Regions from separate parts of the Homo sapiens genome. Here region 1 is linked to region 2. The links are contacts of gene promoters, found by promoter capture Hi-C in human tissues and cell types (Jung and others, 2019). All regions are on one chromosome and are shown on one strand. The core of a region is centred on a gene start or on the middle of the fragment in contact, and the rest is flanking DNA. Distances in the headings are between cores, read along the strand shown.

Evidence for each region. The method cuts DNA at HindIII sites, captures the fragments that hold promoters and counts their contacts. A contact is called where the count stands out against the background at its distance.
Region 1: a contact is called between a fragment that was not itself captured here and the fragment with the promoter of FBLN5 in region 2, in 2 of the 25 tissues and cell types used here (aorta and pancreas).

The regions. Positions count from the first base shown.
Region 1 is chr14:91,909,675-91,916,323 of GRCh38, reverse strand. All of the region lies in intron 4 of FBLN5 (fibulin 5), which reads left to right. Among named protein-coding and RNA genes, the nearest start is that of FBLN5, 35 kb to the left of the region's middle. The HindIII fragment of the contact is 4,313 bases long and covers 1-3,568 here.
Region 2 is chr14:91,946,111-91,952,949 of GRCh38, reverse strand. FBLN5 (fibulin 5) reads left to right here and starts at 5,256. Exons shown (of 11, transcript NM_006329.4): 1 at 5,256-5,737. The coding sequence starts at 5,721. The HindIII fragment of the contact is 12,789 bases long and covers 1-6,839 here.

The sequences.
Region 1 (6,649 bases), core at 163-2,662, 33 kb after region 2:
GGCACCGGCCACCAGGCCTGGCTAATTTTTGTATTCTTTTTGTAGAGATGGGGTTTCACCATGTTGGCCAGGCTGGTCTCAAACTCCTGGCCTCAAGTGATCCACCTACCTCGGCCTCCCAAAGTGCTGTGATTACAGGCGTGAGCCACCGTGCCTGGCCACCTGAATTCTTTTGAGCTGTTCTTTGTTATCCTGCCCTTAGGAACAACAAAAAATAAAAGGCAAAGAATGGTAGATTTTTACCATATGTAACCATCATTATCTTTGGTCATGTTATAGTATGATTTGTTTACAATATACTGCTGGATTTGTTTGGCTAACATTTTATTTAGGATTTTTGTCATTAATGTCTATAAAGTAGAATGACCTGCCACATTTCTTTTTTAATATTACTCTTACTAGTTTTGGTGTCCACATATAAGCTTGATAGAGTGAGATATTGTTCCTTTTCTATTCTCTGGAAAGTTAGAATGGTCTAACCTTAGGTCATTCATGGAAATTTTATTCAAATTCAATTCATGGAAAGTTTATTTGAATTTGCCTATAAGATCATTGAGATTTGGTATTTTTGGGTGTGTGAGTGGGAAGATTTTTAGCTACTGATATGATTTCTTTTTTTTTTTTTTTTTTTTTTTTTGAGATGGAGTCTTGCTCTGTCGCCCAGGCTGGAGTGCAGTGGCGTGATATCGGCTCACTGCAACCTCCGCCTCCCGGGTTCATGCCATTCTCCTGCCTCAGCCTCCTGAGTAGCTGGGACTACAGGTGCCCACCACCACGCCTGGGCTAATTTTTTTGTATTTTTAATAGAGACGGGGTTTCACCATATTAGCCAGGATAGTCTCGATCTCCTGACCTCGTGATCCACCCGCCTTGGCCTCCCAAAGTGCTGGGATTACAGGCGTGAGCCACCGTGCTTGGCCGCTACGATATAATTTCTTAAAGTTAGGGGACTGTTTGCACTTTCTGTTTCTTCTTAAGTCAGTTTTACATAGTTACCTTTTTCTAAGAACTTGTCTACTTAATAAGTTTTTAGCTTCATTTGCATAAGCTTTTTCTTACCATTCTTTGTGTTATCTATTTGATCTTTGCTGACTTTGTAGTTCTGTTGTATTTTCATTCCCAATATTGTGCTAACTCTTTTTTTTTTATTATTTTTTATTTTTTTAGACAGAAACTTGCTCTGTTGCCCAGGCTGGAGTGCAGTGGTGCGATCTTGGCTCACTGCAACCTCCACTCCCTGGGTTCAAGTGATTCTCCTGCCTCAGCCTCCTAAGTAGCTGGGATTACAGGTGCTCGCCACCACACCCAGCTAATTTTTGAATTTTTAGTAGAGATGGGGTTTCACCATGTTGGTCAGGCTGGTCTTAAACTCCTGACCTCAGATGATCTGCCTGCCTCAGCCTCCCAAAGTGCTGGGATTACAGGTGTGAGTCACTGCACCCAGCCTTGTGTTAATTCTTTAATTAAAAAACAAAAAACAAAACAAAACAAAACAAAACAAAAAAAAAAACCACACAGATATTGCCAGAGTCATATCAGTTTGCTGTTTTCAAAAAGAAATATTTTGCTTTGTTGCTCTCCCCGATCTCTTTCTTTTCCTTTTGCTTTTATTTCATCAATTCCTGTTTTTTATTCTTTTCTTTCTATGTTTTGGATTTGTTTCTGTTTAAATTTTTTTCTTTTTTTATTTTTTCGAGAGTCTCATTCTGTTGCCTAGGCTGTATGCAGTGGCATGATCATGGTTCACTGCAGCTTTGATCTCCTGGGCCTCAAGTATCTGGGACCACAGGTATGTACTATACTGCCCAGCTAATATTTGTTGTTTTTTTTTTTTTTTTTTTTTTTTGAGACAGAGTCTCACTCTGTCGCCCAGGCTGGAGTGCAGTGGCATGATCTCGGCTCACTGCAAGCTCCGCCTCCTGGGTTCATGCCATTCTCCTGCCTCAGCCTCCTGAGTAGCTGGGACTACAGGCGCCTGCCACCACGCTCGGCTAAATTTTTTTGTATTTTTGTAGAGACAGGGTTTCACTGTGTTAGCCAGGATGGTCTCGATCTCCTGACCTCGTGATCTGCCTGCCTCGGCCTCCCAAAGTGCTGGGATTACAGGCATGAGCTACTGCGCCCAGCTAATATTTGTATTTTATGTAGAGGCAGGGCCTCGCCATGTTTCTCAGGCTGGTCTCGAACTCTTGAGCTCAAGTGATCTGCCTGCCTTGGCCTCCCAAAGTGCTAGGATTACAGATATGAGCAACTGTGCATGGCCCCTTTTCTAATTTCTTAAGCTGGTTGCTTAGCTCATTAACTGTAAGCCTTTCTTCTTTCATTAAGTCAGCACTTAAGACTACATATTTTTTGGTGTGACCTATAAGTTTGGATGTATGGTATTTATTGCTATTAAGTTGTAAGAATTTTTAATTTTCCCTGTAATCACTTCTTGTTATCCATGATTTATTTAGTGGTGAGTTTCTGAATGTTACACATTTATGGGGATTTAAATTATCTTTTTGTTATTGATTTATAACTTAATTGCGTTGTCATCAGGACATAGGGTCTTCATGATTTATTCACTTTGGTATCCACAATGCCTAGCACAATGCCAAGAATGTAGATGTCATTTAGTAAGTATTTGCTGATATAATTGAATGATAGTTGAGTGAACATCTATTGACCAGGCGTTAGAAGAATTATCTCTGCTCAAATTGTCCAATCCTTCCAGCTACTTGATATTCCAAAATAACTCCACAAATGGGCACTGGAAATATAATGGCCCCTCAAAATTGTCTTCTATGCTGCTCACTCCTTTCCTCCTTTGGCCTGGAAAACAGGCACTGAGTGGGTGAGTGAGAGGATAGTAAAACTGGCAGTGTGAGACCATCACACCCAGTCTCATACATAATAGATTTAGGTAACGGTTCTCCCTCTTATTTCTTATATGACCCAGAGAAATGCATTTCTTCTTTAATAGTAATAGGCTCTATTAATACATTTTAGGTGGCATTTCCTCTAGTGGAATCTCTTATCTCATTGAATCCTCCAAAATATTCAGGCATGATATTCCCATTTTAAAAATGGGGAAATGGACATAAAGCTAGTTAGTGGAGGGGCTGGTTGGGTTCGTGATGTGTATTTTTTGTTCTGTACACGAACCATCTCCACCTCATTTTTATCACTTATAATGACAGGGTAGTAACACCTTAGACTTCCCTAAGGGAATAGAGGTAGATAAAAACTTGTGATTGAATTATACTTGTAAAAGGGCGTTTGAAGACAAATAATGAAAAATACGAATCCATTCTGCACTACTCAATATGGAGTACATATTGAGTTAATACACATTGGTTAATACATATTGGTTAAATGAATGAATGGATGAATGGATGGATGAGTGAACAGCTCTTATTTTGATGAGTACATTTTCTGCTTTTTGGATCAACAACCTCTTTAGCATATTAAAGAAGAAAAGTGTCTCAGTCTTTTCCTGAGCCCCTAAGAACTGCTTTTTTTTTTTTTTTTTGAGTCAGAGTCTCACTCTGTCACCCAGGCTGGAGTGCAATGGTACAAACATGGCTCATGGCAGCCTCGATTTCCCGGGCTCAAGCGATCCTCCAACCTTAGCCTCCCGAGTAGCTGGGACCACGGGTGCACACCACTATGCCCAGCTAATTTTTTTCTTTTCTTTGAGATATCGTCTAGCTCTGTCACCCAGGCTGGAGTGCAGTGGCACAATCTCGACTCACTGCAACCTCCGCCTCCTGGGTTCAATTGATTCTCCTGCCTCAGCCTCCCAAGTAGCTGAGATTACAGGTGTGTGCCACCACGCCTGGCTAATTTTTGTATTTTTAGTAGATACAGGGTTTCACCACGTTGGCCAGGCTGGTCTTGAACTCCTGACCTCAAGTGATCTGCCCACCTCGGTCTCCCATAAATGCTAGGATTACAGGTGTGGGCCACCACGTCCTGCCCAGCTAATTTTTCTATTTTTTATTTTTTGTAGAGACAGGGTCTCGCTATGTTGCTCAGGCTGGTCTCTAACTCCTGGCCTCACGTGATCCTCACACCTTAACCTTCCAAAGTGTTGGGATTACAGGCATGAGTCACCATACCCAGCCCCGAAGGGCCTTTTGAAGATGCCTACTTAAAAAGTCTTGAAAGAGGTCCAAAGGGAAATGTTAGAACTTCCTTATTTTAGAGCAAATCTCAGGAAATATGGCAGTGTTTATACATTATAACATTTAGATAGTACAACAACATTTATAACAATGTTTGTGCATTAAACTAATATGTATACAATGTAACAATGATGCACAGTGTAATATTCATATGACATGAGACAAACTGGAAAATAAATAATTGTGCTCCTAAATGCTTTTTAAAGTAACATCAGATGAGGAGGTCTTCCGCTTTCAGGTTACCCTCTTAGCAAGTTTTCTTCCTACTTGCTAATAGGTCTACAAGGTCATGCCCTCATTTTGTGTGCCGAGGCACAGCGTGGGCATCTCCCAGCCGTTTTTTTTTTTTTTCCGTCTTTTCCTTTTGCATCCTCCAGAGGGCCTCCTTAGCCCTGCAGAGGTAAGAGGTTTAGGCAGTGAGTAGTGAGGGCAGGGAGCTCAACTGGGCCCCAGAGCATTTGGATTCACCAACCTTTCCAGATAGAAGAGACCTCAGAGGCCTTATTTTCTCAAACGAGCTGAGAAAGACTTGCTGGAAGGCCACTGCGGAGCTAGTGGAAGGTTCCGGACTAGAACCTGACTTTCAGTTCCTTCTTTATTTTTTCTTTTAGGAGGTGGGCTCCCCGCCCTCACACTCCCTTCTCTTCCTCTTCTTCCTCCTCCTACTTCTTGAGATGAAGCTATTGCCAGTCTTGACTGAGGGCCAATTCTGTGCCTGGTACTGTGTAAAGAGCTTTAGTTATGTGTGATTCTCACAAAACCCCATGAATTAACTACCATCATTATCAACTCCTTTCACAAACGAGGAAACGAAGGTTTTTAGGGGCAAGTAAACAACCAACCAAAAAACTTGTTTAAAATTACAAAGCTGGCCAGGCGTGGTGGCTCACGCCTGTAATCCCAGCACTTTGGGAGGCTGAGGTGGGCGGATCACTGGAGGTCTGGAGTTTGTGACCAGCCTGGCCAACCTGGTGAAAAGCCCGTCTCTACTAAAAATACAAAAATTAGCTGGGCATGGTGGCATGCACCTGTATTCTCAGCCACTTGGGAAGCTGAGGCGGGAGAATCACTTGAACCCAGGAGGTGGAGGTTGCAGTGAGCTGAGATCGTGCCGCTGCACTCCAGCCTGGGTGACAGAGTGAGACTCTGTATTAAAAAAAAAAAAATTACAAAGCTAAAAAAATGAGGGCAGCAGAATTTGAACCAGATCCGACCCCAAAGCTGGTGTTCCCACTTGCCTGTGTTGTCCTTTGAATCGAGTTACTAGAGGCTCAAGATGCCCACGTCATAGTCCAGACCTCTTTGTTCCTGCTTCTTTCCTTCCCTGCCTCCCCTTCTCTACCTTCATCTTTCTCCCCGCCATCCCTTTCTCCCCAGCACTCTACCCTGATTCCGTGATGCTTGAATTTTAATTCCTCTGTGGAGATGGGGTTACAGAAGAGATGTGGGCTGTTGGGGTGGAGTTAAGTTTCTCAGGAGCACAGGATGGCTGCTGGACTTTTCTTTATGGGGTTTTGTTTTTGATCACAGATCGATTATTTCTTTCAGTGGGAACAGTTTATAGAACTTAGAATGCAATCAATGAAGAAATATGTTTTGATTTACAGATATTCACTTTTTTATTGTAGTAAAAATGCGTAACAAGAAATGTATTATCTTGACCGTTTTCAAGTGCACAGCGCGGTAGTGTGAAGTGTATTTACATTGTTGTGCCGCAGAACTTTTTCATCTTGCCAAACAAAAACTCCGTATCTATTAAGCAACTTTCTCTCTTTCCCCTTCTCTCTAGCCCGTGATAACCACCATTCTACTTTCTGTTTCTATGAATTTGACCTCTTTAAATATATCATATAAGTGGACTCATACAGTATTTGTCTTTTTGTGAGTGGCGTGTTTCACTTAGCATACTGTCCCCAAGCTTCATTCATGTTGTAGCACGTGCTAGAGTTTCCTTCCTTTTTAAGGCTGAACAATATTCCCTCATGTGAATGTACCACATTTTGGGTATTCATTCAACGGCTAATAGACATTTGGGTTGCTTCCACCTCCTGGCTATTGTGAATAATGCTGCTATGAACATAGGTGTATAGGTATCACTTCAAGATCCTGCTTACAATTATTTTGTACGTATATCCAGAAGTAATATTGCTGGATCATGTGGTAATTTTGTATTTAATTTTTGGAGAACCACCATACAGTTTTCCATAGTGGCTACCCAATTTTACATTCCCACAAGTGTTCAGTTTCTCCACGTCCTCACCAACACGTTTTTTTCTATTTTTTGTTGTTGTTTTTTGTTTTTAATTGTTGTTTTAAATCATATCAGCTGTCTTAGTCCCTTTGGTGTTGCTATAACTGAACACCACAGACCAGGTAATTTATAAAGAATAGAGGCCTATTTAGCTCATGGTTCTGGAGGCTGAGAGGTCCTAATGCATGGTGCCAGCATCTGGTGGGCCTTCTGGCTGTGTCATAACACG
Region 2 (6,839 bases), core at 4,007-6,506:
TATGCTACAATTTGCATTTTGTAAAGTTGTTTTATAGTTTTGATTGTGTTTGATTCTGATGATGGGAGGTGGAGCAGATGATAGGATTCCTATTTTGCAAATGAAAAAGCAAAAACGATTTTGTTTTGTTTTGTTTTTGAGACAGAGTCTTTCTCTGTTGCCCAGGCTGGAGTGCAGTGGCGTGATCTTGGCTCACGGCAACTTCTGCCTCCCGGGTTCAAACGATTCTCCTGCCGCAGCCTCCCAAGTCGCTGGGACTAGGCTGCACGCCACCATGCCCGGCTAAGTTTTGTATTTTTAGTAGAGACAGGGTTTCACCATGTTGGCCAGGCTGGTCTCAAAGTCCTGACCTCAGGTGATCCGCCTGCCTCAGCCTCCCAAAGGCTGGGATTACAGGCATGAATCACTGTGCCTGGCCCAGCAAAAACACTTTGAAGAGGAAGCGATGATCTCTGGAAGACAGCAAGGGTCATTTAGCAGTTCATGCCAAAGGAACATTTTTCCTTTTTAAAATAGATTTGCTAGATCAGGAAATGCTATAGGTAACGTGTTTTGATGTTAGCAGAACACTTGACAAAGTGTCTCACGAAGTCTTTGTGGACACGGGGAACCGTTTTAATGGATAGGAAGCTCGTTATGCAGAAGAGGGAGGAATCTGTCCCTGCAGAGCGGAGAATTAGAAGCCATGGACATTAGTTCCATACAGGGAAGCAGATTTGGGTTCAGCTCAAGAAAGAACTTTCTAACAAAGAGAGGCGGGCGGATCACGAGGTCAGGAGATCGAGACCATCCTGGCTAACACGGTGAAACCCGGTCTCTACTAAAAATACAAAAAATCAGCCGGGCGAGGTGGCGGGTGCCTGTAGTCCCAGCTACTCGGGAGGCTGAGGCAGGAGAATGGCGTGAACCCGGGAGGCGGAGTTTGCAGTGAGCTGAGATCGCGCCACTGCACTCCAGCCTGGGCGACAGCGAGACTCCGTCTCAAAAAAAAAAAAAAAAAAAAAGACCAGCTCTTTTGTGAGAGAAGTTGGTCTCGCCTGGAGTCAGACAATGGGCAGTGACCCCAAAATAGTGAAGAAAGAGAAGGGATTAGTGCCAATCTGGATGGATTGCTGCACTCCAACTATCCCGGTAACATTTATTTGTGGTTTTTTCGAGACAGAGTTTTGCTCTTGTTGCCCAGGCTGGAGTGCAATGGTGGAATCTCAGCTCACTACAACCTCCACTTCCCAGGTTCAAGCAATTCTCCTGCCTCAGCCTCCCTAGTAGCTGGAATTACAGGCGCCCACCACCATGCCCAGCTAATATTTGTATTATTAGTAGTATTAGAATTAGTATTAGTGTTATTTTGTATTATTATTATGTCTCAAACTCCTGACCTCAGGTGATCCGCCCGCCTCAGCCGCCCAAGGTGCTGGGATTACAGGCGTGAGCCACTGCGCCCGGCCTCCCAGTAGCATTTTTATTGATAACTGTGATAAAGTCAAAGAAGTCACATTCAGCAGCTCTGTATTTGTCAAAGCTGAGAGTGATATTTAGTACTTTAGACAACAATTCATGTTGAGAGAAATATCTTTTTTTTTTTTTTTTTTGAGACAGTCTCGCTCTGTCACCAGGCTGGAGTGCAGTGGCACGATCTCGGCTCGCTGCAAACTCTGCCTCCCGGGTTCAAGCGATTCTCCTGCCTCAGCCTCCCGAGTAGCTAGGATTACAGGTGCACGCCACTACACCCAGCAAATTTTTGTATTTTTAGTAGACGGGGTTTCACCATGTTGACCAGGATGGTCTCAATCTCCTGACTTCGTGATCCGCCCGCGTCGGCCTCCCAAAGTGCTGGGATTACAGGCGTGAGCCACCGAGCCTGGCCGAGAGAAAGATCTTAAACAGTGGATAAAAATGTAATATGGACATATGTAAAACCTTGTGCTTGCTTAAAAATAATTTGCAGTCCAAGTACAGGGTGGAGGAGATGCTGTTACGTAGCCTGTGCATTACAGGTTGCTTTTGTTGGTGCAAATTCAGTATGAATCAAGAGACAGAAACTGCCAGAGGAGATGAACAGGCTGCCTTGGGGTCACAGGGCACATGAGGAGCAGCTGAAAGCCCCTGGGATGTTCAGCCTGGAGATGAGAATAGTAGCGTGGGCGAGGAGTGGAAGGGTAATAGGAAGCTTGTTGTTTCCAAGTTGGGGGGCCCCTGGCTTTAGAGGGGAGAATTAGATTCCATGAACAGTAATTACATACAGGGAAGTGGATTTGGGTTCAACTGAAGAGAGAATTTTCTAACAGTTTGAGTTATTCAATAGTGAGATGGGCTGTTTTGTGGCGCTGTGATTTCCTCGTCCACAGAAGTGGATAATTTACTATTTATTAAGGATATTTTGGAGGGCATTGTGTAGGGAATGGGAACGTGGACACAGTGAAAATCAAGAGGATAACTGTTATTTCATTCCCGCAACAACCCTGGCGATGTTATCATCGCCATCTTGCAGATGAGAAAACTGAGATGTCGAGAGGGTAGGAGGAAAAACCAAGACTTGGACCCAAGTGTTTTATGGCAGTCTTCGTTTTCTCCCCCTTTCCAACCCTACAATTTTAAGATGGAAACAATCTCTCATCCAAGATGGGTCCCGGGACAGTTTTGCTTCCAACGGTCTCAATTTGCCTATGTAGGAAACAGGTATATTGATTTCCTCTCCTTCCGTGTTCTTCAAGAAGGTTGACAGTATCTGCGAGGTGAATGGACTGAGTCCCTTAAAACTCTTCCTACCCCCACAACTAGTTCTACATCAGATATTTTAAGTTTTATTATTTTGAATATTACTCATATTTTGAATAGGTAATACAGGTACAAGGTACAAAATTCAAGTTATGCCAAAAAGTGAGCAATGAGGAGCGAATTTTCCTCTCCTATTTCTTTTCCAATTGTCTGCCTGATTTCCCTCCTAGGAGATGGTTACAGACCATATGTTTAAACCCCCAGATTCATATGTTGAAATCTGAATCCCCAAGGTGATGGCTCTAGGAGATGAGGCCTTCAGCAGGTGATTAGATCATGAGGGTGAAGCTCTCACGAATGGGACCAGTGCCCTTATAAAAGGAATCCCAGTCTCTGGCCAGGCGCGGTGGCTCAAGCCTGTAATCTCAGCATTTTGGGAGGCCGAGGCCCATGGATTGCTTGAGCCCAGGAGTTCAAGACCAGCCTGGCCAACATGGCAAAACCCCATCTCTACTAAAAATACAAAAATTAGCCAGGCACGGTGGTGCGTGCCTATAATCCCAGCTACTTGGGAGGCTGAAGCAGGAGAATTGCCTGAACTTGGGAGGTAGAACTTGCAGTGAGCCGAGATTACACCACCATACTCCAGCCTGGGCGAGAGAGTGAGACTCCATCTCAAAAAAAGGAACCCTAGTCTCCCTCTCTCCATCATGTGAGGACATAGCAAGAAGACAGTCATCTGCAACCAGGAGAGGACCCTCATGAGAACCTGGCTATGCCCACACCCTGATCTCAGACTTCCAGCCTCCAGAACTGGGAGAGATAAATGTTATTGCATAAACCACCCAGTCTATGGTATTCTGTTATAGCAGCCTGAGCTAAGACCAATAATACTCATGGTTTCTTGTGCATCCTTCAGGTGATGTCTTTTCTGTACGTGTACAAGCAAGAACTTATGTATTTATTTTTTTTCCCACAAATGATGGCATGCTTTACACACAGTTCTGCAGCTTACTTTTTACATTTATTACTATATTAGATCAATCTATGTGAAATTACCAATATTCTACTGTTTTGACCCACAAAATATATTGGAAACCCTTCAATAGCAGTGCATACGGAGCTGTTTCAGTCTTTTTTTCAAAATAAGATATAACATACATAAGACTTCACAAATATTAAATGTACACACCCCTACATAACCAGCATCCAGATCAATCATTAGATTATTACCAGCACCCAGAAGGGGCTGGGCTGCCTCCCAGTCACTATCTGACTTTGAATTTTATATAAATGGAGTCGTTTGATGTGGACTCTTAAGTGTCTAGGTTTTAATTGGTTGCACAATAGTCCCTTTGGAAGCCCCTTACTTTATTTAACCCTATTGGTGCCTTGCTGATCGACCTTAAAGGTGTTTATAATCTTTTGCTTTTACAAACAATGGGGGGATGAACAACCTTATAAACATAAGGTATTTAAAAAAGTGTTTTACAGGAAATTTCAAACACGTAAAAGGAAATAGATTAGACTAGTATAATGGACACAGCTTCAACAACTATCCACATTCTGTTATTCTCCTTTGGGTAGAATTCCATTTACTTACCCCCAAAAATGCCTTAGGGAAGGCTAAATATGTAGACTCCAGAGGCTCAGCTGTACCAATGAATAGCTGCGTGACTATGGGGAGGTTACCTAACCTCTCTTATCTTCACCTCTAATAACATGGAGATGATCATTCCTACTGCTTAGAGTGGTGGTGAGGACAGGGGACCTGGATCAGGGCTTTTCGGCTGCAGGTAGGAAGATGCAGGTGGAAGCAGATGGGATAGGCCACAGTCCATCCACTGGCGTTTTATAGAGTGAGTGCCTTCTGTAAGATTTCATTGACAAAAGTACTCCAATGGCTTAAAAACAAACAAACAAACAAACAAACAAACAGGAAAAAGAAACAGGTTGAAGCCTCCACTAGAATGAATGCAAAGGACTCAGCATGTCTTATGTGCTGTCTCCACCATTCTGCTTTTCCAGACTGTCCCTTCTTCAAATCACCGTTTAACTTGTTAAAATCACTTTCGAGCCAGGGGACACTTTTCCAGGAAAGCGAGAAAATGCCAGGGAGAATCGGGGAATGAGGGCGGGGAGAGAAAAGCGTCCTAAGACTTGCATTGCACAAGCTGAAGTCTGGAATTCGCACCAGCGGGATTCCATCCTCTTCCCCCCCACCCCACCCCGCTGCTCCCCACCCCTTCTTCGGGAAGATCGCGACTCTCCCGTCGCTCGCCCCAAGCCTCTGCTTCGTAGGTTCTGGTTTCCCAATCGATCGTGAGTTTCTAGTCCCTGGAGCTGCGTGGGTCGTGAGTTCAAGTCCCTTTCCTTCCGGAGGCGACAACGTTCTCGCGGGTCCCCTTGCCACGCAGCGCGGGCGTGCACGCCCCTCCCCGCCGGGCCGCGCTGCCAGCCCCGCCCCGCCCCTGGGTGGGAAGGTCAAGGGGCCCGGGCCCTCCCAGCCCCCGCACCCCTGCGCGCGCCCGCCCCTCGCCTTCTGCCCGGGCGCTCGCAGCCGAGCGCGGCCGGGGAAGGGCTCTCCTCCCAGCGCCGAGCACTGGGCCCTGGCAGACGCCCCAAGATTGTTGTGAGGAGTCTAGCCAGTTGGTGAGCGCTGTAATCTGAACCAGCTGTGTCCAGACTGAGGCCCCATTTGCATTGTTTAACATACTTAGAAAATGAAGTGTTCATTTTTAACATTCCTCCTCCAATTGGTTTAATGCTGAATTACTGAAGAGGGCTAAGCAAAACCAGGTGCTTGCGCTGAGGGCTCTGCAGTGGCTGGGAGGACCCCGGCGCTCTCCCCGTGTCCTCTCCACGACTCGCTCGGCCCCTCTGGAATAAAACACCCGCGAGCCCCGAGGGCCCAGAGGAGGCCGACGTGCCCGAGCTCCTCCGGGGGTCCCGCCCGCGAGCTTTCTTCTCGCCTTCGCATCTCCTCCTCGCGCGTCTTGGACATGCCAGGAATAAAAAGGTGGGTTCTCGGCGCTGGACTTTTCTTTCTCCAGGGTCTGGAAGCCTTGCTAAAAATCCGATGGGTGGAAAATGGTTATGGCTGCGATTCAGGCGGTGTCAGGATATTGGAAAAGGCATGAGCTAGTGATGCAATGATATTGTTAATTATAAAAAGCTGCGCCTCTGTAATTTCCATCTTGAAGCGTTCTTTTGGGAGTGGGTATTTTCTAATACAGTTTCAAAAGCCAGCATCAGAGAGGGCTGCGAAATTCTCAGCGCTTCATTCCTCTTTCTTTTCTGGAAAGGGCAGCAACTTTGTCGTTTTAAGGGATTTTTGTATGTATTTTTTAAATTTCGGGAGGCCAATTACTAGTTCACTAGCAATTACTGCGCCGCATCGGCTGATAGACAAGCAGACAGGCTAGCTGAACACCGCGGGGCTGGATTTGCTCTATGTTTGTGTGGGATTCTCACAGAAGTTTCAAGCCAATGAGAAGTGGGAACTGCAGACAGAGATACATGTAAGCAAATGTTTTGCTATTCTTTAAGGAAATTGCAATTACAGTTAAGTAATCCTTAAGTCTTGGAGAACTTTACCTAAATGACACCCACAGTCTTTATTCAGCGAGCTCTTGAAAACATACTGCTTTGAACAAATTAACCTTGTGTGCGTATGTATGTGTCTGTGGGGTGTGTGTGTGTGTGTGTGTGTGCTGAAAACTAAGCTGTAACAATGTCATCCTGGATTGGGGACCAGCACTTCTGTGACAGGCAGTCCTGGTATTTGGTTGGTCTCTCCGGCTTTCCTTGTGTTTCAGGCTGAGGCACAACACCGGCGAACCCACCTGCTTTAGAAAGTTCCCAGGACCGGTTATGAGCACCAACCTGCCTCCCCCCAGCTATTCTTATAGTTAGTTCATTTTTGGAGTTTCCAGGGTTTTTTTTTTTTAATCACAAGGTGCAGCTATTCGTGATGCTGTGAGGCAGTAGTGCTTGGGTATTCTTTCATTTTAGGAAAATCCTATTAGCCTGGAACCTGTTTGGCCCCCAGGACTCAGCTGTGGCTCTTCCAAGAGGCTGGGCTTGAGGCAAGACCTGTCCCAGGGCTGCCTCTAGCCAAA